Linked DNA regions of Homo sapiens: all the other regions are linked to region 6. The links are contacts of gene promoters, found by promoter capture Hi-C in blood cells and fetal thymus (Javierre and others, 2016). All regions are on one chromosome and are shown on one strand. The core of a region is centred on a gene start or on the middle of the fragment in contact, and the rest is flanking DNA. Distances in the headings are between cores, read along the strand shown. Region 1 has its middle 2.1 kb from the start of TRC-GCA19-1. Region 2 holds the start of TRC-GCA9-3 (tRNA-Cys (anticodon GCA) 9-3). Region 3 overlaps KRABD3 (KRAB domain containing 3). Region 4 holds the start of TRC-GCA23-1 (tRNA-Cys (anticodon GCA) 23-1). Region 5 overlaps KRABD3 (KRAB domain containing 3). Region 6 holds the start of ZNF783 (zinc finger protein 783). Region 7 has its middle 20 kb from the start of ZNF467.

Region 1 (3,851 bases), core at 1,338-3,837, 350 kb before region 6:
AGAACCAGGTAAGCTGGCTGCTGGTGTCACGTGACATCCACGCCCAGCGACTTCAGTGGGCGCTCTGCCACGCAGTCACACTGTGTTTCCCTAGCCTAGGGGCCGGCCAACTGTGGCTGAGGGCCAAATTTAGCTCATCTGTTTCTGTATGGCCCACAGCTGCGATTGGTTTTATATTTTAACCCCCTTTTTTTAATTAAAGAGAAATACACCACTCACTTGCACAGCTCTCCCCATGCCATCTGCCTGCACCTGTGCCCCCTTCTCTGCCTTCAGTCCTGTGACTGCTAAACTGTCGACTCTCCAGCCAAAGCCCCACTTCCACCTGGTGCTGCATCCCACCCCATGCCAGCTTCTCAAGGGCAACACAGTCAATCCTACCTTGACCTCTACCCCTACAGCCACGGCCTGCTTCTCTGCTCCGCTTCGTGGCAGAGCCCCTTGGGTACATCTGTGCTTGCTGTCTCTTGCCTCTTCCCTCCCACTCTTTTACCCCTTCCGCCAAAACCTCTCCAGCCTCGGTTACCAGGGCCCTCCGTGGTGTTAAATGGTCTGTCTTCTTACTTGGCCTGTTCGTAACACTTGCCATGTTGCTCACTTTCCTCTCACCTGCCACCCACCTTCACTGCTCTTTCTTCGCTGGTTCCTGTTGCCCTGTGGAGCCTCTCAGCCCTAGAGCGCCCTTGGTTCTCACACCCGCTCTCTACTTGCATTTCCTCATTCCCATCGTCTCCCAGGGTCTTGGGGCCACACATACCATCTAGGAATGTGTGCCTCAAACCTGGGTTTTTGCCCCAAATTCCGCACATCTAGCTGCTTGGCCTGTATCTCCACCTCAGTGTCTCATAAACTCCCCCCAAACATTCCCAGCGCTGAGCTCCTGTCTTCTCTGAATAGCCTGCTCCTCCCACATTCTCCCCAACCCAGTAAATGGCCGCTCCATCCTTCCATTTACAGGCAAAACCCCACGAGTCCTCTCTGACCTCCTCCTCCACATCCGCATCCACTCCACCAGAAACCCTACTGGCCCTCCCTGCCAGGTTTGCCCAGAGTCTGTCCACGCCTCATCCCCTCCACTCTGACACCCAGGCTTATCGTCTCTTGCTGAGGTTGTTGCCAGCCCCTGCCCTGATCCCCCAGAGTCTCATCTCAGCCCAGCAGAGTAATCCCTTTTAGACGCAAGTCCTGGCTTTCCATCTGACCCGCACTATTGGCTCACCTCCTCCACTTTTCTCTCACTCTGCCCAGCTGCACCATCCCTGGTGGTGTCCCCTCCACCCTGTGCCAGGACCTTCGCAGTGCCCTCTGCTGGGAGTGCTCCTCAGGCAGGTCCCACCTGCAGGCCTTTCCTGTCATCGGCACTGCAGCCCCTCCCCACCCAGGACTCCGGGCCTACTTTCCTGCTTTCGGTCTTCCGTGTCAGACAGCGTCACATAATATATATATTTCCTATTTATAGATTTCATCGTATGTCAGGTCTACCTCATTAGAATGTCAGTTTCAAAGTACAAAGACTTTTTAACTGTTTTCTTCATATATTCATTCTAGGCACCTGAGATATTGCTGAGCATAGAGTAGGAATTCAGTAACTATTTGCTGAATGTATGCCATGCTTTGTAATTCAAAATGTGTGTGTGTGTATGTGTGTGATGTGTGTGTGCGAAATAATGGATTTTTGATATCATTTAGGTCTCCCAGACCTCTGTAGGGCAGCCGCTTGTCCTGAATTGTCTGTTTATCCTTTCTATCCACATTTTTTTTTTTTTGAGCCGGAGTCTCTCTTTGTCGCCCAGGCTAGAGTGCAGTGGCACGATCTTGGCTCACGGCAACCTCCGCCTCCCAGGTCCAAGCAATCCTCCTGCCTCAGCCTCTGGAGTACCTGAGACTACAGGCGCATGCCACCAAGCCTGGCTAATTTTTTGTATTTTTATTAGAGACAGGGTTTCACCATGTTAGCCAGGATGGTCTTGATCTCGTAACCTCGTGATCCACCTGCCTCGGCCTCCCCAAAGTGCTGGATTACAGGCGTGAGCCACCGTGCTCACCCTCTATCCACATTTTAAAATGTCTACTGTGTGCATTGGTAGTTGTGAACAATATATGGATTTTTGTGTTTTGAAACATTACATAGATGTCATTATATTTATCACTCATTATTCTGTATTTCAGACCTATCCATGTTGATACATGTAGATCAAGTTTATTCCTTTTAACAGATGCTTAATATTCCAGAAGCAACTATATTGTAACTTATTTTCCATTCCTCCACTGATTGGCACTTAAGCTTTTTTTGATTTTTCACACTCACAAGCGATACCGTAGTGATCATTCTTGGGCCTGTCTCTTTTTGTGCCCCTGTGGGGATGCTACTCCAGAAAACAGACCCAGCGGTGGCCTCACCATATCATAGGCTTGCTTGATTTTGTCTCTGCCATTGCCATATTGCTGTCCCCAGAAGTACCCCAGTGCCACCAGGTGCGCCTAGCAGCAGCTAGCTATGAAGAACCTGTTTCTTTATGTCTGCCCAGTTTCTATAATTACATTTCTGCCAACCTGATGGGGAGAGATCCTTGTCTTAATTCAGGATACTGGAGGCCTGAGCTTCAGAGCTCAAATAGCCTTCGTGCCTGGTCCTGGCTCTGCCAGTTGTGCTGAGCTAATGGTTTGGGGCTAGCATGGGGCTGGGTCCCCTCTGTTAAGGTGGTGTCTCCCTTTTAAAGGGAAGGACTAGTAAGTGAGGAGAGGGAAGAAGAGAAGACAGTCAAAAAATGTAGGCCAGGGCCCAAAGTAACCCCACTGTGCAGAGGGTGAAAGTGAAGTGGAGAGAGAGTATGGGATGTAGGTAAGAGAAGATAAAACTAAAGTAGGAGAGAAGGAGAGAGGAAGCTTCCAGCTCTAAACAGGAGTTCTCCAAATTGTTGCCCCACACAGGGACTGAGGAGGAGGCTGCAGGATTCTAGGCAGGAAAGATTTCTAGAAGTCCTCTGATAGGTCCATGGGGAAGGACAGGGTAAGTTCAAAGCCAGATAGAGGTCTGTCTGAAGGAGGTCAGTTGCCAGTGGTTCACTGAAAATGATGAGAAATTACAATGTCTATTAGATCCTTGGGCGTGGGAACATAGGTGAAACAGTGTCAATCAGGAAAGTCTAAACAGTTGAGAGGGCACCTTTTGGGGGCAGAGCATCTGGCTGCATATCTAGTCCCTGGTTCAAGATGGTGTCACTTGTTGGCCCTTCCTTTCACTCTGCCCACGTGTTTGCAGTCACTCCGTCCTGTGTCATGTCTGTGACCACAGATTTCTCTGATTCTCCACTTCTCCACTTTTCCATGGATTGGATCTTGTCTTCTGGTCACTACTTTTATCTGACACATTGTGGGATTCAGCGAATGGAGGAGAAGAGGAAAGAAGAGGAAAGGAAAAGGCAGTTCAACTCCTGCCTCAGAGTGTTCAGTGCAAAGAGGCCCTTTATCATGAATGTGGATTCTAGTCATGACTTGGTCATTAATCAAGTGTGTTTTGTTTGGGCATGATTTTAATTACTGTCATTTTTTCTAGATCTATACCATGGAAGGGAACAGATTAAACCAGTGTTTCCAAACTGTAAGTCAGAATGGTGCAGGGAGTTGGTTAGAAGCACACATGTCCCTAGGTCCTTTCCCAGATAGTGTGGCTTAGGAGTCCTCAAGTGGGGCTCAAGAACTTTTGCTTTTACCCAGCTCTGCCCAGCCCAGCCTCACCTTTAAAGGGTCTGTTGAGCAACCAGTTCTTTTGAGTCCCTCTGTTCTAGGCGAGTCTGAAGGATGTTCTGGCTGCAAACCGCAGTGATTTTAATGTCCCTGCCTTCAGTCAC
Region 2 (3,765 bases), core at 123-2,622, 370 kb before region 6:
TCAAAAAAAAAAAGAAAAAAAAAAAAGAAAAGAAGCAAAATCCAGCCATTGTCTAAAGGGTGAGGGTGAGGGTGGGGTGGATGGGGTTGATTTTAGAATAAATGTCCATGAGGAAGAGGCAAAGGAAGGAGAGATGTAGTGGATGATCATTCCAGCAAGAAGTGATGTCAAAGCTTACGCACTCAGCTTGAGACAGAAGGAGGAGAATGGACCACACAGTACAAAGGAGGCTCTGGGACTCAAATGAGGGGTCAGTGGGAGAGGGATAGAGCCAATGGCCAGAGAGGGTTGGTTGGTATGAGATAGGTCTGCTAGGACATGGGACCTGACCTGGAGTAAACAGAAACTATTGTGGGTTTCAGGAGGATCCCTCCCTTGGGCAGGCGACATCCTTAAGCAGTGTCCATTGGGAACTCATCTGAAGTGGGTTTCTAGCTCAGAGGAAGAGCATTTGCCTGCAGGTCAAGAGGTCCATGGTGCAAATTTAGTGCCTCTTAGTGCTAGACTTTCAACTGGAAGTCAGTTGGGTGATTTCCGGGGACCGGGGTGGGCGGGGGAGGGGGTGCAGGCGGGCATCTCGTTGGGCCTGTTGAGGGCTCAGCAGATGGGGAGTAGGAGCAGAGGGGGCAGCAGGCCTGGTCATATCTTGCCCAGGGTTGAGTTAATAGAGAGAGCCCGAGAGGAGCATGTGATCCAGGACCCACTTTGGTGATTAAAAGTGAAACAGGGTAGGGGGCACCTGGATTTGAACCAGGGACCTCTTGATCTGCAGTCAAATGCTCTACCCCTGAGCTATACCCCCAGGCCCAGGGAGAGGGTGTAATTAACACCCTTTTCATGTGTCGACACACCAAGAACACGACTCAGCTCTGCAGGTTGGGATGTCCAGGCCAGTTCTGTCTCTCTGAATTCTGGCCTCCCTCCTGTCACTAACACTTCTTTTCCCATCGCTTCTGTGTGGACCTGGCTGAGGACACCCTGGTGGCCTTGTTGACCTTTATGACTGGAAAGACCCTTCAAGTCATCCAGATAATCCTCTTTGACAGTAGCAGTTGTTGAGCATCATGTGAGGTGTGCTAGACTGGGGACAGAACTCTAACTGGGTGACACCACCTTCCCATGCACTGCAAGGAGGCCCAGTGCCTGTGTCTGGGACTTGTATTTGACATACAATACTGTTCATGATAATTTTCCAAGTGATAAGCAAATTGCTTTTGTAAAAGAAAGTTACTTAAATAATAATACTCAGTATTACAAAACCATGGCACATATATACCATAGAATACTGTGTGGCCATAAAAAAAGAATGATAATAGACCAATAGTTAATGGTAACCCCCTGGGAGCAGGTGAAGAAACCAGGGAGCGGGTGGGGGAATCTTCTCTTTTCCGATTTACATGTGATAACTCAATGTCCATGTTTCCAGCCTTCCAGGTACTGAGCCTTCTGGGTGGTTAAAAATAAAAGAGAGAAATTGATAAAATATTCCCCAGGAAGTCTTCTCTGCCTCCTGCAGCTGGCATTGTCCTAATTCCTCCTCCTTCTTCAGATCCTCCCAGGCTTTCTCTCATCCAGTTCCTCTGCCCCGTTCCTTCCAGGCAGCTCTCATCCCTCCCAGTGTTCAGCCCCTCCCCTCTGATGCTGTCACTCTTTTTTCACACAGCAGTTGTCCACTGTCCACCCGGCTGGAACATCACCATGGGGGTGGTGAGTCTGAGGGCAAAAGGCACCCACAATGGGCCGGGGCATCCCTGCTGCCTGTGTCCTGTGCCCAGCACCCAGGCCCTGACCCCCTGTCCCTCAGCCACACTTGAGTTGAGTCCCACAGCACCCCCTTCCACACGTGCCTTCTCCACCCTGACCTACTGCCTCCCCAGAGGCCTCTCGGATGGTGAGGACCTAGTATAGTCAGGTAGTACCATGCCCAAGGAGGTGTATAAACTGTGCAGGAATCAGTAAAAATAAAAATGCCAATGCTGCCCTCCCGAGTCAGCTGGGGCTTACAATCAGGTCAAAATGATGGTGTCAGCATTATTAAAGGCAGAGAAAGGTCTTTCTAGTCATACCTCGAGGAAGACGATCAAGGAAGGGACAAGTCCCCTGCTCAGTGATAAAACCACATATACAGCAAGAGAAATAGACAAGTCGTCTTCCCTGTATGAGAGAGATGGCTGAGTTGGGGTGGGGGCAGCAGGGCAGTTGCTAGGAAGCCCTCCTGAAGAGCAAGAAAGAGAGCAACTAATGCAGCTCTTGTACGAATCCAATGGCCCCTGCATGAAGAAGGAGGAATCTGAAGCCCTCTCTGCCTGAAATGGTCCTACGACCCCAAGTACCAGGCGAGCTCCTGTCTTCTCAGTCTGGATCTCACTGTGGTGGCCCTAAAAAGAGTCAGTGACTGTCCTTAGGAGATGGCTTCCTGCATTGAGTGTGCCTGTGGAAGTAGCCAGCTGGTGTGCAGCTCATGCTGGAGCGAACATCAACAAGGAATCAACTGCACACTGTGGCCACCCTACCCCAGAGTCCCCTCTTCCTCCTACATTAGAATTCCCCTCGGAAACTGCCCTAAGCTTCCAATAGGGAAATTACATAAATTACTCAGACCAATGTGCTAACTGTAAGGAGACTAGAAGGTTAGCAATAGTTGGAGTCCTTGTACCAGCATACAGACAATTTTACATGGCATGGGAACTCCAGGCATGACTGACCTTGCCAGGGGGTGGCTCTTCACAAAACCAGAGGTAGTAAGAGACCTAAGAGCCCAAGGAAGTAAAAGTATAGATGAAAAGAAGTCAGTTGGGCAAATTTTCCTCTCAAATTTCCCTGCCCCACCTTCCGGAAACTATGCAATATTGCCCTCAGCAAGGAAGAAGAGAGCAGATGGGCAAGCCTCTTTTGTGATGGCAAATTCCATCTTCATAAAAGAGAACTTGTCTCCTCTGGTGGGCATGATGTGGTGAAGACTGGCTCCAGGTGTCCCAATGTGGACTCTCAGGGGGTCCTAAAAGGGGCTGGGAGAGTGAAACACACACAAGGCACAGACAGAGGCAGCCCAAGGAGACCACAGGGATCAGTGAGAGTTTCCTGGGGCGGGAGTCACTACCTGCCTCATCTCACTGTGCAGAAGCCTTAGCTGGGCAAAGGAGGTGAACTCCAGCACCAGCTTCTATGGCTAAAATGGACAGTAGGTGCCCTGGAAAAAGCCAGCAGGATGGCCACACTACCCAAGAGAGAGAATTTTTCACATCAGCCCCAATGGTATACACACTACTTATGCATAATAACTACCACAAATATTTCACCTTACCAGTACGCCATGAATGAAACATCACTTCCTCAAGGAAAGTGTCCTTACCTCCTGCAATCGCTTTGATATCCCAGTAATAGTCTTATAATATCCCTGCATCTTACCATCTAGTATTTCTCATATTTTCCATTTTTAACTTCTGTGAACATTTGTACATCTTGATCTATTCCTCTAGTTTCAAGAGCCCATGTCTGTTTCAGTCACCATTGGGATAGGTTGTGTACGGACATGGGCTTCCACTCTGGATTAGATGGGAGTGATTGGAGGATTTCTTGCAGAGGAATAACATAAGCTGATTTCGTCCTCTGGCTGGCCTGAGGGCACTAGAGGACATGTATGGAAGCCGGGACACAAGTTCAGGAAGTTGTCACCATAACCTGGATGAGAGATGATTTCAGCTTTGTCTGATGGTGGAGGCAATGAGAAGTGGTCAGATTTTGGATATATTTTGAAGCAGTGTG
Region 3 (3,830 bases), core at 368-2,867, 460 kb before region 6:
TAGGGGGGACCCTTAGTCCAGTATGACTCATTCCTTATCAGAAGAGACACAGAGACAGACACAAAAGAAGAAAGCTGTGTGAAGACAGGCAGAGACTACAGTCATGCAGCCACAAGCCAAGGAATGCCCAGGGCCACCAGAAGCCACAAGAGGCAAGAAGGATCCTGGCCCAGAGCCTTCAGAGGGAGTGTGGCCTGCCCACACTGTGACGTAGGGCTTCGGGTCTGCAGGGCTGTGAGAGAAGACATTCTTGCTGTCCACCTAGTTTGTGTGCTGGGTTTAGAGAAGTGCTCAGAAGAAACCTGGGGTTGCCCTTGGAAGCTTTGGGTCACCAGGCTCCTTTACACCCTGTACTCCTATCTCCTATTCTCTGTACTCATCTCCTCCTACCCTGTGGCTTTTTAAAATAACACGAGCATTTTTGTCTATGTTTCTTTACAAAATAATCCTTCGGCTGGGTGTGGTGGCTCACGCCTGTAATCCCAGCACTTCGGGGGGCCAAGGCAGACAGATCACCTGAGATCAGGAGTTCGAGACCAGGCTGGCCAATATGGTGAAACCTTGTCTCTACTAAAAATGCAAAAATTAGGTGTGGTGGTGGGCGCCTGTAATCTCAGCTACTCAGGAGGCTGAGGCAGGAGAATTGCTTGACCTCGGAAGGCAGAGGTTGCAGTGAGCCGAGATCACGCCATTGCACTCCAGTCTGGGCAATATGGCGAGACTCCATCTCAAAAAAAAAAAAAAAAAAAAAAAGTCCTTCAGTGGACTTTAAAGTGGCCATCAGACACTAGAAAATGACCAGCATCAATAGGCTTGAATTTAAAATTATGGCAAAAATTAACTGTGCAAATTAAGCAAACAGAAGGTAAATTATGGGAAGGGTCCTTCCTGTTGAGAAATGAATGTTAAACTGTTTATTTGTGAGAACAAATTATTAAAGAAAATGAACACGCCCCTAATAAAGCAAAGACAATTCACCGCTTGTTTCATCTGCTCAGGGCAGTTATTTTAATTAATTAATTAAAAAAGACAGGACCTTACTATGTTGCCCAGGCCAGTCTTGAACTCCTGGGCTCAAGTGGTTCTCCCACATTGGTCTCCCAAAGTGCTAGGATTACAGGCGTGAGCCCCTGCACCCACCCAAGTCAGTGATTCTAAAAACTGTCCCAGGCTGGGTGTGATGGTTCACGCCTGTAATCCCAGCACTTTGGGAGGCCCAGGTGGGTGGATCACCTGAGGTCAGGAGTTCAAGACCAGCCTGGCCAACATGGTGAAACCCCATCTCTAATAAAATACAAAAATTAGCCAGGCATGGTGGTGGGTGTCTGTAATCACAGCTACTTGGGAGGCTGAGGCAGGAGAACCTGGAAGGCAGAATTTGCAGTGTGCCAAGGTCACAACATTGTACTCCAGCCCCTGTTTCAAGAAAAACAAAAAACTGTCCCTGCCACTAACCGGCAGCCTTGTTGTCCACTTACTGCCGGGCTCTCTGCCTGTTCTCCCTGAACAGCTGATAACTTGTCCCATGCAGTCACACTTACCAGTGCTCCCCTCTGGCCAGGCTGCATCTACACCCCTGGCAAGGGGCAGCCCCTCCCGTGACTGCCTGCCTGAGGCCCGGAGGCCCAGAGGCTGATGGGCAGTGAGATGCTGCAGCCTTTGCCTCCTGCCTCGATGTGCAGACTCTCCCTGAGCAAACCTCTGTGGCTCTGGCCCAGGTATGGTCACTCCCTCTCAGGAACAGTCTCAGACACCCTCCAAAACTTCTCTCAAAGAGTTATTTACATTTCTTCCTAGCATCTTGGAACAGAGAAAATGTAGCCAACATCAGGGTCTATGCAGAAGAGCGTGCAGAGCAGCCCTAGACCGCTGTCCTTAGGAAGGCCTGCTTGCCAGGAGGGCTCAGGCTGGCTTCCAGGTATTTAGGTGTCAGGAGGCTTCCCACCATTCCCTAAATGATGGGAGTGGCTCAAGGTGCCTAGGCTGAGCAAATGACGTGGTGTGTGCCACACCCCTGCTTTCCTTCTGGGAGTCTGGAATTTTGGTTCATGGCAGGCAGAGGGTTCCCACATGACATTCTGATGGCTCAACACAGAGCTGGCAAGGCAGGTCTGAGCTCTAGGTAAGAACATGATACCAGCTATGTTGGTTGCACTGGTACCACTGCTGACCTGATGTGGCCATTAAGAGGTTCCGGACCCAGAGACCGGGGCAGAGCACGGTGACTGGGGCCTAGCCTCAGGAGCCAGGCTGCCAGAATTCCAATCCCTGCCTTGTTTCATACTAGTTATGAGACCTCAGCCAAACCTAACCTATTTGGGCCTCAGTGAACTCATCTGTAATACTGGGATCATAACAACCTACCTCATAGAGGTATTGTGAAGACAAAACAAATACAGGAATAGTGCCTAGAACAAATGCGGGGACTATGAATATTAAGTGCTATGATTAGTAATACTGCAGCCAGACCTGTCTGCCTAATGCCCGCTTGCAGGTCTGAGCCTGCCAGCTGAGCTCTTCCACATACTGCTCCTGACCACCGGTGTCTCTCTCGCTCCAGACTAAATATATCCCAGCTCTTCCAGGAATCTGTAAGAGATGCTTTCCAGGCCTCTCACCATCTCAGCCTCAAGACAAACTGTTTTGTGATAAAATTCTTAGAAAATGAGAATGGGAACTGACTGTGGCCAGGGTAGGCGCTTCTGCCAGTGGCCTCCCTCTCCCCAGAAAAAGCAAAGAGTGAGGGTTTTGTGTGTGAGGGAGTGAGCAAGTGTGAGTGTGCAAACACCTGGGCTACAAAACTCATCTTCGGGAGGAGGAAGGCCACCACTGGCTGGCTCTGCCCACACACCACCGGCCTTCCTCCTCGGGCCCCACTTCACCTCCTTCCCCCAACCAATGGAGAAAAGCTTTCTGGGCTGACCCAGGACTCTTGTAACTGGGCAGCCTCCTAGCTCATAGCTGCACACTGGTCCTCCTAACATCACCCTTCCACCGTGTCACTAGCCCAGCACAAAAACTGCAGCTTCAGTGCCTGCTGGACCTGCCCCTCTCTCACAGTCCTTCCCAACCTAGACCTGCTCTCCCAGTGGGCCTCAGGCTCGGGCTCCCTGATCAGACCCTGCCACAGGACCTCTCAACCTGGAGGCTGTGCTCACATTGCCCTGGGCTTCTGGGAACCCTCCCTGCTCCTCTCCACCTTACAGTGACCTACCACTCCCCAAGGTCACTCCTGGCCACCTTCTCCATGAAGCTACGTAGTGTGAGGATATTCCCCTCATCAGATCTGAAAGGTCAATGGCCCAAACTCCTCACTTTACAGAACAGGAAACTGTGGTATGAGGAGGCCTTAGGATGGGGCCATGGGCATGTCTGAACCAGGGTGTCCCTAGGCTACTTAACTGTGCAGCCAGACCTGAAAAGGACACTTGACTGTCCCTGCCCAACAACATCCAATTTGCCTAGCCTCTCCCTTCTCCCCAAATGCTTGGGGGCACTAATGACGCCAAGGGCCTGGCACAGTGTTTGCTCTGCCTAGTCACACGCTGCCCCCCATCCATGGCTGCCTCGGACTGGCCAAAGCTCAGGAGCCACCACGGTTGCAGAACTGGCTCCAGGTGCCCATCCAGAAGAACGTGGAGCAGTTGCTGGTATCAGCACCAGATACCTGATACCTCACTGATATCAGCACCAGAGTTTCCCAGCATCGTCACAGCCCACACACAACCTAGCCCAAACGGTGCCCAGGCTGTCACGGCCTGGGGCTCTCCCTCCAGTTCTCAGATCTAAACGCCTTACCTGCAGGCTTCCCAAGACAAAACTTGGGGTTT
Region 4 (3,881 bases), core at 1,006-3,505, 330 kb before region 6:
GTGGAAAGCTCTACCCTGAACTACACCTCCATTCCCAGTGCATGGCTGTTTTTAACGTTACATATATTTTTATAATTTATCAGAAGTTTGGACTGGTTGGAGCCCACCACAGCGCCACAAAGCCTCCGTAGCCAGACTGCCTTTCTAGATTCCTCCTCTCTGGGCAGGGTATCTCTGAAAGAAAGGCAGTAGCCTCATTCAGGGCCTTGTAGATAAAACTCCCATATCCCTGGGACAGAGCACCTGGGGGAAAGGGGTGGCTGTGGGCACAGCTTCATCAGACTTAAACTTTTCTGCCTGCCGGCTCTGAAGAGAGCAGTGGATCTCCCAGCACAGTGCTCAAGCTCTGCTAAGGGACAGACTGCCTCCTCAAGTGGGTTCCTGACCCCCGTGCCTCCTGATGGGGAGACACCTCCCAGCAGGGATCAACAGACACCTCATGTAGGAGAGCGCTGGCTGGCATCTGGCGTGTGCCCCTCTGAGACGAAGCTTCCAGAGGAAGGAGCAGTCAGCAGTCTTTGCTGTTCTGCAGCCTCTGCTGGTGATACCCAGGAAAACAGTGTCTGGAGTGGACCACCAGCAAACTCTTAGCAGACCTGCAGAAGAGGGGCCTGACTGTTAGAAGGAAAACTAACAAACAGAAAGCAATAGCATCAAATAAACGAAAAGGACGACCACACAAAAACCCCATCTGAAGGTTACCAACATCAAAGACCAAAGGCATTTCTCTATTTCTCTTTCTTTCCCTTCTTTCACTCCCTCCCTCCTTCCCTTCTTCCTTCTCTTTTTTTTCTTTTGAGACAAGGTGTTGCTCTGTCACGCAGGCTGAAATGCAGTGGCATGATCATAGCTCACTACAGCCTCAAGCCATCCCACCTTAGCCTGCTCTATAGCTGGGACTCCAGGTACATGCCATGACATTTCACAGGACATATCCACAGAAAATTGTGGCATTAGCATGATTTGAGGGTGAGATTTTTGGCCCTCTTATATCAAAAGGCCACCTCTCAGGCACTTGCTCAGACCAGTTGAAGAGTCAGTTGTCTAAACCAGTTTTAGCTGGACAGGAGCTGGCCCAAGTGCCTGAAAAACAACTGAAGTGACCATCACCATGTGACCTACGTAAGTTCTATAAAGCCTCCCATGAAAGTTAAGTTTCTGCATTGAGCATTGAGGCTTTCAGGTACGGTGGCCTTCAGCTTCGTGGAAATAGGGAAATAATAACAACAAAAAGCAAGCAGGGCAGTTGGGCCTGATCAGATTAATCCCTCCATTTGAAGGCAAGCAGGAAACAACCGGCCTTGGGGGCTCAGGGGTTACAAGGCACAAGTGAACCACTTGGAAGTGGCCCTGGATCTTCACTTATTTTTGCATCTGTGACCTTCACCATGAGACTTTGCAGATCTTCCCACTAGAGGTGGAACATGCTTCCCTGCTCTTGAGTTAGGGCTTGCTTCTCTGACTTGATTTGATCAATGAGATGTTAGCACATGTGATGCAAACAGAGGCTTGAAAGCTGCTTGCATAGTTGGGCCTCCCCCTTTGCATTTCTGCTGTCACCACCAGAAGAGTGTCCCCTTGCTAGCTGCTACTCCTCCAGCTGGGATTGTGGAAGGAACACACATGGAGCAAACTTGAGCCCGGCTCAGACAGAAACCAAGCACAGATGGACCCACAGCTTGAAGCAGACCCAGCCTACATCAGCTGATTGGCATCCATGCTGCTGACCTATCAGCACGAGACATGCTTATGGTTTCATACAGCCTAATTTTGGGATGATTTGTTGTGACACATTGTTGTGGAAATAGCTGACTAATACAGCCTTGATTCTTACACCTGCCTCTCCCCCAACCCTCATCCCCTATTCCCATCAGGTACTGAGTAAGGGAATGGGAGGAGATAGTTGAAGGAGTTCAGGTTGTGGCTACAGAGTAGGAAAGTACCATTAGACCAGTGAAGGGTCTCTGGGAAATGGAGGGGTGAACTCATGACCAGAAGGGCGGTCTCTAGTCAGTTGTGGTAGAGTTGCCAGTTTCCATAAGCTGGCTGGGAATGAATACAATTTATAGTGCACTGTAGAATCCTTGGGTGTGGCAACACAGGTGAAATATGCTAAGGAGGAATGTCCACCAGGCAAGGGGGTATAGCTCACAGGTAGAGCATTTGACTGCAGATCAAGAGGTCCCCGGTTCAAATCCGGTTACTCCCTGCTGCCACTTACCTGTGGGTTCTCTTTTCCTGATGTTGAGCTTGCTAGTCATCCTCACCACTGTTCTTCCTATAGTTCGTGTCAGTTTTCTCATGACTTCATTTTTCTGGCACAAGTCATGATCAAGTCAGTAATAATCTGCATGTGCTTCAAAAGTTCTAATTAGCTGCTCTTCTTTGAAGTTTATATTATGGCAGGACAGCCTGAATTAGAGGTTATGTAGTCTGACTTTGCATCAGCATTACTGACAGAACATGTCAAAGATACAGATTACTTCCTAGAAATTCCAATTTAGTAGGACTGAGGAGGAATCAGAGAACTTCTACTTTTGGGGGTTGTCTGGGGCATAATCCCCTGTTAATACCTGTTCTAACATCCAATAATTCCAAGTGGCTGGAAAATTGTTTTGGAACTTACAACAACTTGTCATTCTAAACAACATCCCAGTGGGAAGCATCAGTGATGTTCAAGCTAGTGCCTGCCTTCAGTCCATCACTGAGGGCATGTAGGGTGCTGAGCTGCAGGCATAGGCAAGTGGCCAGGTATGTAGAGGTGGGAGAGTGTGGGAAGGTGGGGGATGTCAGAATGAAGCTGTGGGCATGGTAGGAGGGTGACCAATTGCAATGGCACAGTCAGCTAGGGGTGGTGGCAGGCCATGAGTGATTACTCGACTCCCTGCATTGAAGTTCAGAATTAAAGTGTACTCAGGCTTCAGTAGTTGTTTTTGAGTAAAGCATTTGATTGATGATCCACAGGTCCCTGACTCAAATTCATGTGTTCCCTACCTACACTAATTTCTTCCCATACTGACCAGAGTATTCAAAAATAGTTTCGTTTCACCTCCTGAGGCCCCTGCACCTGACTCTTCCTGCAAAGAGGACGAGAGGGTAAGGAGGTTGGTTTGTCCCATGCTCCTCTCTACTTTCCTGCTGCCCCACGTGACCTGCCCAGATCTGCTCTGCACGCCTGATTCAGTCTTGTCTTGCTTTGCTTTGGTGAGCATTTCTCTTGTGTTTTCTTTTTTGTTTTTCTTCCTATTCTTCCCCACCCTGTGAACCCTCTGTCCACATTTTGAGGATCCCCAGTTGTGTGAGGCACAGTGGAAGACATGGCTCTGCTTGTAGCCCTCGAAGCTGCAAGGAAGGAAAAAGCCTCTTTCTCTCTTTGTCTTCCTGGCACTTCTGGCCACTCAAGTGGCCCTGACTGCTACTTACTCAGCTAATGCTCCAGAACCGAACACTTTCTATCAGGGAAACAAGTGGCAAACCTAATCTTTTAGGAAGAGACAAAGGCAGGGCACAGGATGAGGGGAGGAAGAGGAGGACACTGAGAGGGAAGGCAGGAGCATGGTTGACCCTTGAACAACACAGGGGCCAGGGGTGCAAGCCCCCAATCCCATGCAGCGGAAGGTCTACATCTAACTTTTGACTCTCCAAAAAGTTAACTAGTGATAGTCTCCTATTGACTAGAAGCCTTATTGACAATATGAATAATCAATAACATGTATATTGTATGCTCTATGTATTATATATTATATATTTACAATAAGCTAGAGAAACTTTTTATTAAGAAAATCATAAGGAAAAGAAAATATGTTTATTACTCTTTAAGTGGAAGTGAGTCATAGTAAAGGTCATCATCCTCATCATTAGCTTCAGATTGAGTAGGCTGA
Region 5 (3,817 bases), core at 101-2,600, 470 kb before region 6:
CGCATTGCCAAGCGCCAGCTGAGCGGGCTGGGAGCAGGCACATTCCGGTAACCAGGACAGAAGTGGGCTAGTGATACCTGGTCATGTCTTTTCCCAAGACAAAACCAGGAAGACTGGCCCAGCCCGTTTGGTGTGTTACAGGCTGAACTGTGCCCCTCCCCAAATGTGTATGGTGAAGGCCTAACCTCCAGTACCTCCAAATGTGACCTCACTTGGAGAGGGGGTGTTTAGAGAGGTAATCAGGTTAAAATGAAGTCATTAGGGTGGGTCATAACCCCATACAACTGCTGCCCTGATATGAAGGGGAAATCTGGAGACAGCTGTGTAGAAAACACCATCTGAACAGGAAGACAGCCATCTACAGGTCAAGGGGAGAGGTCCGGGACCGATCCTCCCTCCCAGCCCAAAGCAGGAACTGAACCTGACACCTGGATTGTAGACTTCTGGCCTCCAGGACAGAGACAATATGTGCTGCTGTTGAAGCTGCCCAGGCAGGGTTCCTCTGTGAGGCAGCCCCAGGGGACTCAGAGTGTGCCCCAGGAGTCCTGTGGGAATTGCCCCACCCTTCCTGGCACACTCCTGAATGTTCTCGAGGATGTCTGGGAGACGAGGCAGCGTGCTGGTGGCACAACCAGCCCCGCCCCAGCGTGGGCCCACATGGACCTCCCTTCTATAGGAGTCAGGGCCTTCCTTAGCAACTCACTTCTTTAATTTCAGAATCCACAGAGGTAAGTCCAGCTTAGACCAGGGGGCTGAGTTCTCTCAAATGAAATCTGTGCCAATATTTACTCCAGGAAGGCAAGAGCCCAGCCCTTCAAGGCTCCTGAGATCAGGAACGGCTGGTGGTTAGGAGGCGCTCTCCTGGCCGCTCTAGCTGTGTGGGGCACCCCCTGCATATGTGGGGCACACGTGGCCTATGCACACCACCCACCTACAAGCTTGGGCGGCTCCAGTGGGAAAGACAGGAGAGGGAAGCAACATTTGATTGAATCTGAGCCAAGAGGGCCAGAGGCTGAGGAAGGCACCCCCACAGCAGCCTCCTGAGCAAACAGCACCTGGGGGCTCTACCCAGTTGGGACAAAGGGCGAGGCTCCCAGCAACAGTAAGGGAGATGGCGTCCTCTGGGAGAGGGTGGCCTGGGGTGGGGTGACAGGGCTTCCACGCCACCACTGCACCCTCGGCAAGAACGAGCAGATGTGGAGAAGAGGAATGCCATCAATGCGCCCCCCATCTCGGGTCCCTGTGCTCCCCACCCCACAGTTCTTCCTGGAGGGCCCTCTGCACTCCTCCCAGCAGGCTGCTCGGCTCCTTGGGCCGCTCTGGGATCCCGTCTGGTGCCACTCCTGAGGTCGGCACGTCTGCATCTGCACTGGCTGCAGGAGGAGAGGCTCCCTGCAGGGGTAAGGCAGCAGGCACTAAAGGGGGAAGGGGGCTCTGGTGGCCCCCGGTATGTGCGAGGAGGGGGTGTGCAGGCGGCGCAGCATGGCAGCTGGGTGTAGAGGACAGCAGCTGCTGGGAAGAGCTGCAGTGGAGCCCAGGAGGTTCTGCCGGGGGAGCGTCTGGAGGCAGCGGACGTGCCCGGCGAGCGGTCCCTCTGGAGAGTCCTTGCAGGTCACCAGCCCTGCAGCTCTCTCCCTGGCCACGCAGGATCTTTGGTTTAGGCCTCGTGGGTCCCTTCTGCCTCCAGTAGGGCAGATGTCTGTGACCAGGGCCATGAGCCCAGCGAGGTCCCCGTGGGAGGGTCCACATCCAGGAAGCTTGGCCCATTGGCCCAGGGCCTTGGGGGCGCCTCCCCAGCCGATTCACCTGGGTCCTCATGGTGGCCACTTCCTGAGCCAGGCCTGCCAGCGCTGTGGCGAGCCGATCCAGCTTCTCCGCAAGGGCAGCACCGAGGCTGTGCAGCTCCTGCTGCAGGGGCTTCCCACAGTGGCATGGCGGCTGCAGGGAGGAGGCTGGCAACACAGGAGGCGCAGCTTCCGGAGGGGGCAGCTCCGGAGGGGGAGACTCACTGGGCAGCTCAGGCGGGCCCTGGGGGAGCAGCCTCTCATGGGTCTTGGCTAAAACCAGAGCAAGGACCGGTCAGAGTTCCTGGTTTGTAAGGACCTTTCTCTCCCCAGAGGTCCCATGAACCAAGGGCGCTCAGTACTCTGCCTCCTCCAAGGCCCAGCTTCCAGAAAGGAAGGAAGGTGGGTGAGGCCTGAGAACGCAGATGCCAATGCTTATGGCATGAAAACTGGCTATGTCTCCTGGCTGTTCCCCAAACTGATGGGCAGGATCAACCACAGGTTGGGTTTCCGTGGTAACCAGGCTTTCCTAAACTGCGGTCTTCCCACCTTCTAGGAATCGGTGGGTCTTTGTGTTGTTGATGAGACCAAATGGCACCCTGCCCTAGGAGTCAGTGAGAAGGGTCCAGAGCCCCCGAGACAGCATGAGGCCAAGGCCGTGGGAGCACCAGGAGATGGGCCAGGAGGGCCAGGCAAGCCAAGGGCCTTCTGCGCATTTTTTGTGGGGTGACCCTGGGGCCACTCCAGAACTCAGTGCTCTTCGTTACAGGCAAACCACAAGGGTTCCCACCCCCTTCTGCTTTTACTCTCCCTATTGAGAAGTTACAGATTCATAGGAGTCATAAGCTTTTTGTTTTTTTTAAAAAAAGATCACCTAATCCTTCGCCCTAAATTCCCTTGGAATTGGTCCCAACCCTGGGCAAACCACAGGAAAGGCTTGGCCAGGCACCTGCCATTCCTAACCTGTTCAGCCCCAGGCCGGGCGCAGAGATGGTTTCTTCCCTGTTTCTCTGGGCCCCCAGCTGTGGCTCTGCCCTGCTCTTTTCGGCACCTCCAGGGCTTTAAACCGAGGAAAAAGTGAAGACTGGAGTAGCTAAAGGACCCAACCGCTGTTTGGTCAAGTTCATCAATAAGGATCTCGGCCTGGAGACCCCAGCTAGGACTTCTACAGAGGACAGGCAAGGCTCGGTGGCCCCAGGCAGCTCAGAGCTCACAGCAAAGTGGTGGCGCCTGGACAGAAGCCAACACCCTGAGCCAGTAAGAGAACCTGCCGCAGGCCACACTCAAAGTTCCTGGTGTGGGGCTGTCCCCAAGTGACCCAGGGCACTAGGTGCCAGGCCCCCTGCATGTCTCCACCATGAGTCCGTAGGGGCACGTGTGTGACATGGAGCCAACCCTCTCACAGTGACCATGGCCAGGTCATCCTAGCCTCAGTTTCCTCACCTATTCTCTAAAGTCCCCTCAAGCCCCAAACTTTGATCCTTCACTTCTCAATTTCCACCTCTAAAAGGTGTGTCTGCTTTTATGAAAATCCCAACTGCTTCTGTGATAAAACACTGAAAGGAAATATGCAACCTGAAGTGCATTACAGGTGAGACTTCCTACCCATCACTCAAACACTGACCCTGGAAGGCTGTTTTCCCCAAGCTGGGGCTCTGGGTCCTGGCCCGTGCAGAGGGAATGGGGGAAGCCACCAGTTCACCTGCAACTCTGGGTCTTCCATGTCCAAGCTCCAGGCCTCTGGATGCTTCACTAACCCTGGGCCTTTTCTCCAGCTGAGAAACCGGGCAGGGATCCTGAGCTGTACCTATAGAAAGAGCACAGAGACCTTGGGGCAGGGAGACGATCGTTTGGCCAGAGCCATTCTGACATACCCTAAAACAATATCAAACTCTCAACTTTTAAACAATGATTAAATGAGATAGAAGACGGAAACTTGGCCCATGAGGGAGCCTAATTCTGGTGGCAGGGCCCGCCGCGGTGCGTGTGTGTGTGGTGTTCCTGCCCTGTATGCAGGGGGCTCCGGCAGGAGG
Region 6 (3,885 bases), core at 498-2,997:
CCAGGGAACAGGACTATAAACCTGCAGAATCCTCAACGCTTTTTCTCTCCCTTGCACTCAGGGAACCCAAAAAGAAGCTCAGCACACTCACTAAGAGGAGGGAGAGGAAGTTATACTTTAATAAAAGTATCCAGAAAAATCAAGGTTTCAAAACCTTCACTGAGGTGTATTAATAATAGTAGGTATCATCTATTGAGCCTTTACAAGCGTTTTCCAGTATGTCAAAAATGGCCAAAGGATTATAATCTCCCAATTGGACATACTGCACTATATCAAACCAAGATTCTAAAATCTGCTAAACTGGCCTAACTTATATAGATGAAGATGCCAAAAAAACTGATGTGATTCTTCCTTCTCCAGGAGAAAAATTCTGTATAGGAATACTTATAGTGTATTCTTATGAATAAACTTATTCATATAGATATGTATCTGGACAGATAGATAGATAGATATAAATGAGACAGGCACCTGCGCCTGTAATCCCAGCTACTTGGGATTGGGAGGCTGAGGCAGGAGAATACCTTGAACCCGGGAGGCAGAGGCAGAGGTTGCAGTGAGATGAGATCCCGCCACTACACTCCACCCTGGGTGAGAGTGAGACTGTGTCTAAAAAAAAAATATATATATATATATATATACACACACACACACACACACACACACACACACACACACACGTATATATATATACTTTTTTAATTAAAAAATTTTAAAATGGCCGGGCGCGGTAGCTCTCGTCTGTAATCCCAGCACTTTGGGAGGCCGGGGCGGGCAGATCACGAGGTCAGGGGTTCGAGACCAGCCTGGCCAACATAGTGAAACCCAGTCTCTACCAAAAATAGAAAAATTAGCCAGGCGTGGTAGCAGGCGCCTGTAGTCCCAGCTACTTGGGAGGCTGAGGCAGGAGAATCCCTTGAAGCCGGGAGGCGGAGCTTGCAGTGAGCCGAGATCGTGCCACTGCACTCCATCCAGCATGCGCAACAGAGCGAGACTCCCTCTCAAAAAAAAAAATTAAATAAAATCTGCTACAGTAATCTTTTTTAAAAAAATCTACTATCTCTCTTGTAAACGACACAATCTTTCTCTTTGGCAAAAGTAGAATATGAGGCGTTTTAAAGTGTCTAATTCCAAAATCCCTGCCCCGGCGTGAGGCTCCCGCCTCTAATAGATGCGTGACCCTGGGCCTGTCCCTTCCCATCTCAGCCTCCGCTACTGTCCCGTGGGGCTGGCGGCCCCTGCCCGCCCAGCCTGCTGTAGGGGGGGCCGCGAGGCCTCAAATGGGACAATACTCCTAAGGCGCGGCCTCCTCGTCGCCGAGCGTGACTCTGGGGCCCGGCCTGGCTGAGGCCGCAGATGGGCCGGATCGTCAGCCGCTGACGTCGGGGCCCCGCCCGCCGGGCCTGGCATTTGGGCCGCCCGGTCAATGCCTTCGACGCGGGCTGGGCGATGGGCCGGGGGCAACGAGCGCGGAGGCTGCGCGCAAGGCCCTCTCACCCCGCGGCCTCGCGCGGCCAGAGTCCCTCGCGCGGGCTCACGCGGCGGCGGCCTGGGCCTTCCGGGCGTCCGCGGGGCCGAGGGCGCTTACCCGGGCAGGCGCCGCTTCGGCCATGGCTGCCCGCGTCCCTCGCTGGGTTGCAGTCCCTGGACCCGGCCTGTCGGGCCCGGGGCGGCGCGGCAGCGACGGCGGAAGCGGAGCGGGACCCGCCTAACCTGAGAGCTACTGCCGGGCGGCAGCGAACTGCGTCCCGAGCCACGTGCCCCGCTGGCCCTTTAAAAAAGAGCTGCGCTCGGCGGCCGAGCTTGAGGACGCGCACAGCGCCCCCTGCAGCCCGTAGGACCGCACGCCCGCGGCCGCCGCCCCGCGCCCTCCCGAGGCCTTCAGCGCCCGCGGCGTCCGGGACCCAGGCGCGGCCACCCACCCTCACCCGGGGCGCGGGAGTTGACGCCAGGGCGGGCGTGCCACGGCCTCCAGCGGGGCTACGTCAGGCGTAAGCCACTCCCGGGCCAGCGCGGCGCCCAACCTCTCTCTGCGTCCCACGCGGGAGCCGGGAGGGCTGCGGGAAGGAACCGCGCTGGAAAGTGCGAAACCTCGCGAGGGAAAGCTGCGTGGGGAACGGGGTCGGCCCTCGCCGGGGCTCCAGTCCGGACCGAGACTCTGTTGCAGCGCCTCCCACGCACCACAGAACTGAGTTGGGGAAAGTAAAAAGGATACGTGTGTACCCAGGGAGAAGCCAGGGAAACTTACATGAACGTTTTTAAAGTCTCTTTTAAATTTGACAGAACAAACGTGAAGATGGTAGGATTTTTTTTTTTTTTTTCCTAAGCCTGCCCTCCCCTCCTGAGGACTCTGGGGTCCCTTCCTCCTCCCGGGGCCCGCCTGGTGAAAGTCCTCAGCCACCCACGAGGACCCTTCTGTAGCTTTGGTCCAGGCTGAGATCACAGCAAGTGTGAATCAGTCCATCCCTCATTTAGGCCCTGAGGCATCTTGAATAAACCGCAGGACCCATTTTCCTCGGCCTGTGCTGAGGCATATTGAACTAAATGTGCTGTATGCAGTTGAAGCTTTGTTTTCTGTCTTTTCTGCATTTCCCATTCATCTCACAGTCTTTGTCCAACAAGCTGGCAAACTCTTCCCGCTAGAAATCTGCAGTTTTGTTTCTTTCTGTGTTTGGGTTTGTTTGGGGTTTTTTGGTTTTGGTTTTGTTTTTTCTTTTTTGGGGGGGGGGGGTGAGGGTGAGAAGTTATTTTCACAAATATTTGAGCCAAGCAAAAGCGTGGTCAACTATCAGAAAAAACACAAACTGATATCCTAAGTAAGGTGAACCCCAAAATTTGCGGAAAGGTTAGGACGTGTTACTTTAAGGTAACAAATCAAATAAATATTTGGCATTATTCATTTTGGAAATTCTTGTTGAACTATCCCAATCTAAAACACAAACTGCAAGTATGCACTAAAGACATTAAGAGCATCCCTAGGATCTTATCAGGGATCAGTCCAATCTATTCAGGATTATAAAATACCAGTAAATGGTGACGTTATAGAATAACAGTTAAGGTCCAATGCAAACAGAAAGGGTCAGGAAAATGGGCCAGGAGCCGTGGCTCATGCCTGTAATCCCAGCAGTTTGGGAGGCTGAGGCGGATGGATCACCTGAGGTCAGGAGTTCGAGACCAGCCTGGCCAACATGATGAAACCCCATCTCTACTAATACAAAAAATTAGCTGGGTGTGGTGGTGAGGTACTCTGGAGGCTGAGGCAGGATAATCGCTTGAACCCGGGAAGCAGAGGTTGCAGTAAGCCGAGATCATGCCATTGCACTCCAGCCTGGGCAACAAGAGCAAAACCCCATCTCAAAAAAAAAAAAAAAGAAAAAGAAAGAAAGAAAGGGTCAGGAAAATGGGCTGGAGACAAAAATGCTAGGATTTAATGAGCTCTGTTGAGGAAAGAGTGCTATAATGTTTGACAGCTAGTCTTCGTTTTTTAGAAAAAAAGTTTCTCTAAGTCAGTGGTACTCAAACTTCAGTGTGCATCATGTTCACTGAGGGTTCTTGTTAAAAATACAGGATGCTAGGCACAAACCTCAACATTTCTAGGTCTGAAACAGGAGGGGATGAAAGTGATGCGAATTTGCAATTCTAACTAGTTCCCAAGAAATGCTGATTCTATTGGTCTGGTGATCACAGTTCGAAAACCTTGGCACTGTTTATCAGGGTCCCACAGCTACCTCCCATTCCCATGCTCAGATTTTATAAATATATTTAATAAACGAACACTTTGCACCATAATGTGGTTTCTGAGCAGACCAGCCGGGGTGTCAAGCCAGCTCTGATATAAATTAAAATTACATGGTGGCTTTTTTTTTTTAAGACGGAGTTTCGCTCTTG
Region 7 (3,923 bases), core at 66-2,565, 490 kb before region 6:
TACCAAGGAGACCAGGCAGTGCAGACAGGTACAGCTCTGAGAGAACACCAGGAAGGAAGGGGGAAAGGAAGGTAGCAAAGTCTCAGGATGTGTTTATGGGGCAGGCAGATAGCAACCTGGGAAGAGGGTCGAGGCCTCACAGACTCCCAAGACACTGGCCAGCCTGGGCCCAACTCCAAGCCACAGTCTCTGTGAATTGCCTGAAAATTGTCCTGCTGACATTGCTGCCCCCTGCACACAGGCAAGGGGGGAGCTGTGCCATGTGGCACTGCGTTCACCGAAGCTGCTGTGTTCGCTTCCTGAGGCCTCCTTTACAAAGTGCTACACACTGCATAGCTTCAAAACAGCAGAAATCTATTCCTTCACGGTCTGGAGGCTATGAGTGTGAAATCAGGTGTTACACTCCCTCTGAAGGCTCAAGGGAAGACTCTGTTCCAGGCCTTTCTCCTGGCCATTTCTTGACTTATAGACACAGCACTTCAATCTCTACCTCCATCCTCCCATCACCTTCTTCCTGGGTCTCCTCCACTCTGGGCATGTCTGTGTCCCTCCTCTTCCTATAAGGACAACAGTCATATTGGAGAACGGCCCACCCTAATGACCTCATCCTGATTTTATCCGCAAAGATCCTATTTTCAAGAGGCTATATTCATAGGTTGGGGCCAGGGCTAGGACTTCAACACAACTTTTTGGACTTCTTGGGGGGCGCAATTCAATTCATAACAGAGACCTTGAGTAAAATACTGTGTCAAAGTTGGGGGAGCTGAGGCTGAAATGAGGGCTCCTGGTATTGGGAGGGAATGGGGCAGTGCAGCTCTAATCAGAGCCCATGAGAGTGGACCTGTGGGTCCAGGCAGCTCTTACCCCAGGAGCTCTTGGATCCACCCTGTGCTATGTTTTGGAGATGTGTCATATCATTCAAAAAAGCCAAAAGAGGCTGGGCACTGTGGCTGACACCTGTAATCCCAGCACTTTGGGAGGCCGAGGTGGGAGAATCACTTGAGGCCAAGAGTTCAAGACCAGCCTGGGCAACATAGGGAGACTCCATTTCTAAAAAAAAAAAAAAATTTAATTACCCAGGCATGGTAGCAGGCCTGTAGTCCTAGTGACTCAAGAGGCTGAGGTAGGAGGATGCCTTGAGCCCAGGAGTTTGAGGTTACAGTAAACCAAGATTGTATCACTGCACTCCAGCCCGGGTGACAGAGCAAGAACTTGTCTGAAAAAAAAAAAAAAAAAGATAAAACATAAACAGTTTTGCTTTGTGTTACTTTATTCTTCGTGTGATTTTTAAATTTAAATTTTTCCTAGTCCTATAACAGTAAAATAGCTTTGATAGGACAGTAAACAGTTGACTTTTAGGAGACACTAAGAGCAACTGGGAACTCAGCCTTTTTCCATCAAACATGACTGTTTTGTTTGGTGTTTCTGTAAACTGTGTTTATGTGTCGGGGGTGGTGGTGTGCACACCAGGATTTACTTGTAGAGAGACATAGATGAAGGAAGGAGACAGCCTCCCGAGGAAGATGTTGCCTATGCTGGGGAGAGGGCTTGAAGGGGAGCCGGGGTGGGGGTTGGCGAGGTGGGTTGAGGGTGGGAGGGCTTCTGCTAGTATGTTCAGGGAGACAGATGGGCCGACTGAAGGCAGACAGGTTGGTGAGTGCGTTCACGGGACATGCTGGTTTCCAGTAGTGAAAGATTCTTTCTGCTCCTGGGACTCAAGAACCTGCTCGTAGTTGTTAACTCCAGGGTCCTGGGGAGGCCACCCATGCCCCACAGGGAAGAAAACTTCTTCACTCACTTACTGATCCTTGAAATGTCTTTTAACCAGAGACAAGTCTTGTATTTCACAGTCAGAGGGAGTATGCAAGACCCCCAGAAGAGGGCGCACGGCCACAATTCCACGCTGGTGGAAGGACTGGAATCCTGTCCTTCCCTGGGAACCCTCACCTGGGGAAGGATGAGTGAGTGTCACACTGAGGCCTCCCACAGTGGAGAAGCAGCAACGGAGAAGGAGGCCCCAGGAACCCTAAAGACAGAGACTTTAAGGTCGGGAGGGTTTCACAGAGGCTTTAGGAAACAGATTTATCCAACTGCCACAAAGGACTGAGCCTTCAGGCGTGGGATTAGGTCAGCCTTGGGGCAGGGGACATTCTTGGTCAATAGCAGGACTTTGATTTACGTAACGGGCTTATGCAATGTCATTACATAACATCATTAGGGGCATCGCAAATCGGATTCTATTTCAGGCTCTACAGGAGCCAGACCCAGGGCTCCCCTCCGGCCCAGCAAGACAGGATTCCCGTGGGCCCAGTGTCCCTGTCCTCGCTGGGATTTTCTCTCTTGAGATTTCACTGTGGGGCTTCCAGGAGAACTCCTAAGGCCTCAGGATCCTCTTTCTCCAGAATGATGGAGCTCGCGTCATAGCACGCTCATCCTTTGCAGATGCCTGCCCTGCTGCCCCTGCTGCCCCTGACCCTCCCAGTACTGTCCCCCCAAGCCCAGGCCAGTGGGCAACCTTCTCCTATCAGGTCCCCCTCTGACTTCTCCCCAACTCCTGCTTCCCCATCTATCCTCCAACTGTCAGGCTGATCTTCCTTATAACTTATTACGCCCCAGCTTAGAAACTTCTGCTCATCTGAATATCCAGAGGCCTTAGCGGTTGACACATTGTGCCACATTATTCTGTGTGTCCCTCTGGGGGTGGCAAGCTTCCCTGGCACAGAGCAGAGTGCCCACCTAGCCAGTGTGCAATACATGTCTGTTCTAACTCAAGGCTCTCTACAGTTGGCCCCAACAAACTTTTGAAACTTATTTTCCAAACCTCCTGGGTACACACCCTCCCTTACACCAAGCGGTCTTGTTCCTGTCTCCGGGCCGTGTGGTCCTTCCTGCCTCCTGCCCCGGCCTCCCTGGGCTTCCCCATCACAAAGTGCCTACTGCCCTGACTTCCCTTTTAAATCCTACCTATTTTTCGAGCACAGATGGGGGCCACCTCCTGGGGGTGTCCTTCCCCAATGATCCCAGCACACAACAATCTCCTCCTTTAAGCTGTCATGGTTCCTCTGCTTCCCACCTTACCAGATGTCGCCTGCAGTTGTTGGGTGTGTCCGCGTGTGCCTAAAATGTGTGAGTGCCTCCTGTGACTGAGGCTCCTACTTAATTCCCCTAAGCCCCCTTTGGTACGGGGTTGCTGTCCTCACTTCTCAGGTAAGGAAACCGGGGTTTAGAAAGGTTACACCCTTGTAGGAGCCTCATCTCTCCAGGCCCACTGGGAACATCTCGAGGGCGGAAGTCGTGTTTTTTTGTCTTGGTATTTCCAGGACCTGGCACATTTGAACACTCACAACACGTATGTTGAATTGTACAGGTGGAAGAGGAGCCTTTACAAGGCCTACCCATCTCAAAATCCCTCCCCTACCGGATAATCTGAGTGCCTAAAATCCACCCCTGCAGAGTTATAGCTGTGAACTAAGACAGGGTGACAGCAAACACAAATCCCAAAGTTAATAAATTCAGCGATCTATTTTTTCATGTGGCTGCTGAGATGGTTAAAGCTAAACTTACTGCTCAAATGCAATTATGTGAGTTAGATATCTGGTATGTTTCACATACTCTGCATGTCCCATTTAAAGCCTCACTGTAATATACCACCTTCGTTGGCCGTTACTGCAAAGTATATGTATTAGATGAGAAGAGAGCTACCTGAACTAAGAAGAGAGCTGAGAACCACACTCAGGAAAGCAGACAGAAAGGGGAAAGCAGGAATGTCAGTGTTGGAGAGGCCTGAGAATTTTCTAGGCTGTCGGTTCCTAACCTTTAGCAAACCACCAAGCATTTAGTTGTTTAAAGCTCCCTTCAGAGTAATGTGCATAGAAACAATGATTTGCACGTAATTTTAGAGGGTATGTGGACACCCTCTTTAA

The links. Contacts are between HindIII fragments. The CHiCAGO score rates a contact against its expected background, and 5 or more counts as called.
Region 1: a fragment that was not itself captured here is called in contact with the fragment with the promoter of ZNF783 in region 6 in 1 of 17 cell types (neutrophils); the score reaches 9.4 in neutrophils.
Region 2: a fragment that was not itself captured here is called in contact with the fragment with the promoter of ZNF783 in region 6 in 3 of 17 cell types (neutrophils, naive CD8 T cells and non-activated CD4 T cells); the score reaches 11.1 in neutrophils.
Region 3: a contact is called between a fragment that was not itself captured here and the fragment with the promoter of ZNF783 in region 6, in 3 of 17 cell types (neutrophils, total B cells and naive CD8 T cells). The highest score is 8.5, in neutrophils.
Region 4: a fragment that was not itself captured here is called in contact with the fragment with the promoter of ZNF783 in region 6 in 1 of 17 cell types (neutrophils); the score reaches 6.5 in neutrophils.
Region 5: a contact is called between a fragment that was not itself captured here and the fragment with the promoter of ZNF783 in region 6, in 1 of 17 cell types (neutrophils). The highest score is 7.4, in neutrophils.
Region 7: a contact is called between a fragment that was not itself captured here and the fragment with the promoter of ZNF783 in region 6, in 1 of 17 cell types (neutrophils). The highest score is 8.9, in neutrophils.

Annotation. Positions count from the first base shown.
Region 1 is chr7:149,613,298-149,617,148 of GRCh38, reverse strand. It overlaps the pseudogene ZNF767P. Among named protein-coding and RNA genes, the nearest start is that of TRC-GCA19-1, 2.1 kb to the right of the region's middle. The HindIII fragment of the contact is 602 bases long and covers 2,287-2,888 here.
Region 2 is chr7:149,632,724-149,636,488 of GRCh38, reverse strand. It overlaps TRC-GCA9-3 (tRNA-Cys (anticodon GCA) 9-3), which reads right to left and starts at 802; the gene lies at 731-802. The HindIII fragment of the contact is 2,394 bases long and covers 176-2,569 here.
Region 3 is chr7:149,715,437-149,719,266 of GRCh38, reverse strand. The region is part of intron 1 of KRABD3 (KRAB domain containing 3); the gene reads right to left. Among named protein-coding and RNA genes, the nearest start is that of KRABD3, 2.4 kb to the right of the region's middle. RefSeq lists an enhancer at 3,394-3,830. The HindIII fragment of the contact is 2,588 bases long and covers 324-2,911 here.
Region 4 is chr7:149,593,542-149,597,422 of GRCh38, reverse strand. It overlaps TRC-GCA23-1 (tRNA-Cys (anticodon GCA) 23-1), which reads left to right and starts at 2,138; the gene lies at 2,138-2,209. It also overlaps the pseudogene ZNF767P. The HindIII fragment of the contact is 3,527 bases long and covers 492-3,881 here.
Region 5 is chr7:149,731,446-149,735,262 of GRCh38, reverse strand. KRABD3 (KRAB domain containing 3) reads right to left here. Exons shown (of 17, transcript NM_001290187.2): 16 at 3,487-3,591; 17 at 688-2,057. The coding sequence ends at 1,216. Among named protein-coding and RNA genes, the nearest start is that of KRABD3, 18 kb to the right of the region's middle. RefSeq lists an enhancer at 1-202. The HindIII fragment of the contact is 819 bases long and covers 941-1,759 here.
Region 6 is chr7:149,260,058-149,263,942 of GRCh38, reverse strand. It overlaps ZNF783 (zinc finger protein 783), which reads right to left and starts at 1,747. Exons shown (of 6, transcript NM_001195220.2): 1 at 1,586-1,747. The coding sequence starts at 1,609. LOC124901769 (a long non-coding RNA gene) reads left to right here and starts at 1,602. Exons shown (of 2, transcript XR_007060582.1): 1 at 1,602-2,296. RefSeq lists a silencer at 1,280-2,149. The HindIII fragment of the contact is 3,928 bases long and covers 1-2,564 here.
Region 7 is chr7:149,751,804-149,755,726 of GRCh38, reverse strand. No RefSeq gene overlaps it. Among named protein-coding and RNA genes, the nearest start is that of ZNF467, 20 kb to the left of the region's middle. The HindIII fragment of the contact is 2,790 bases long and covers 1-2,710 here.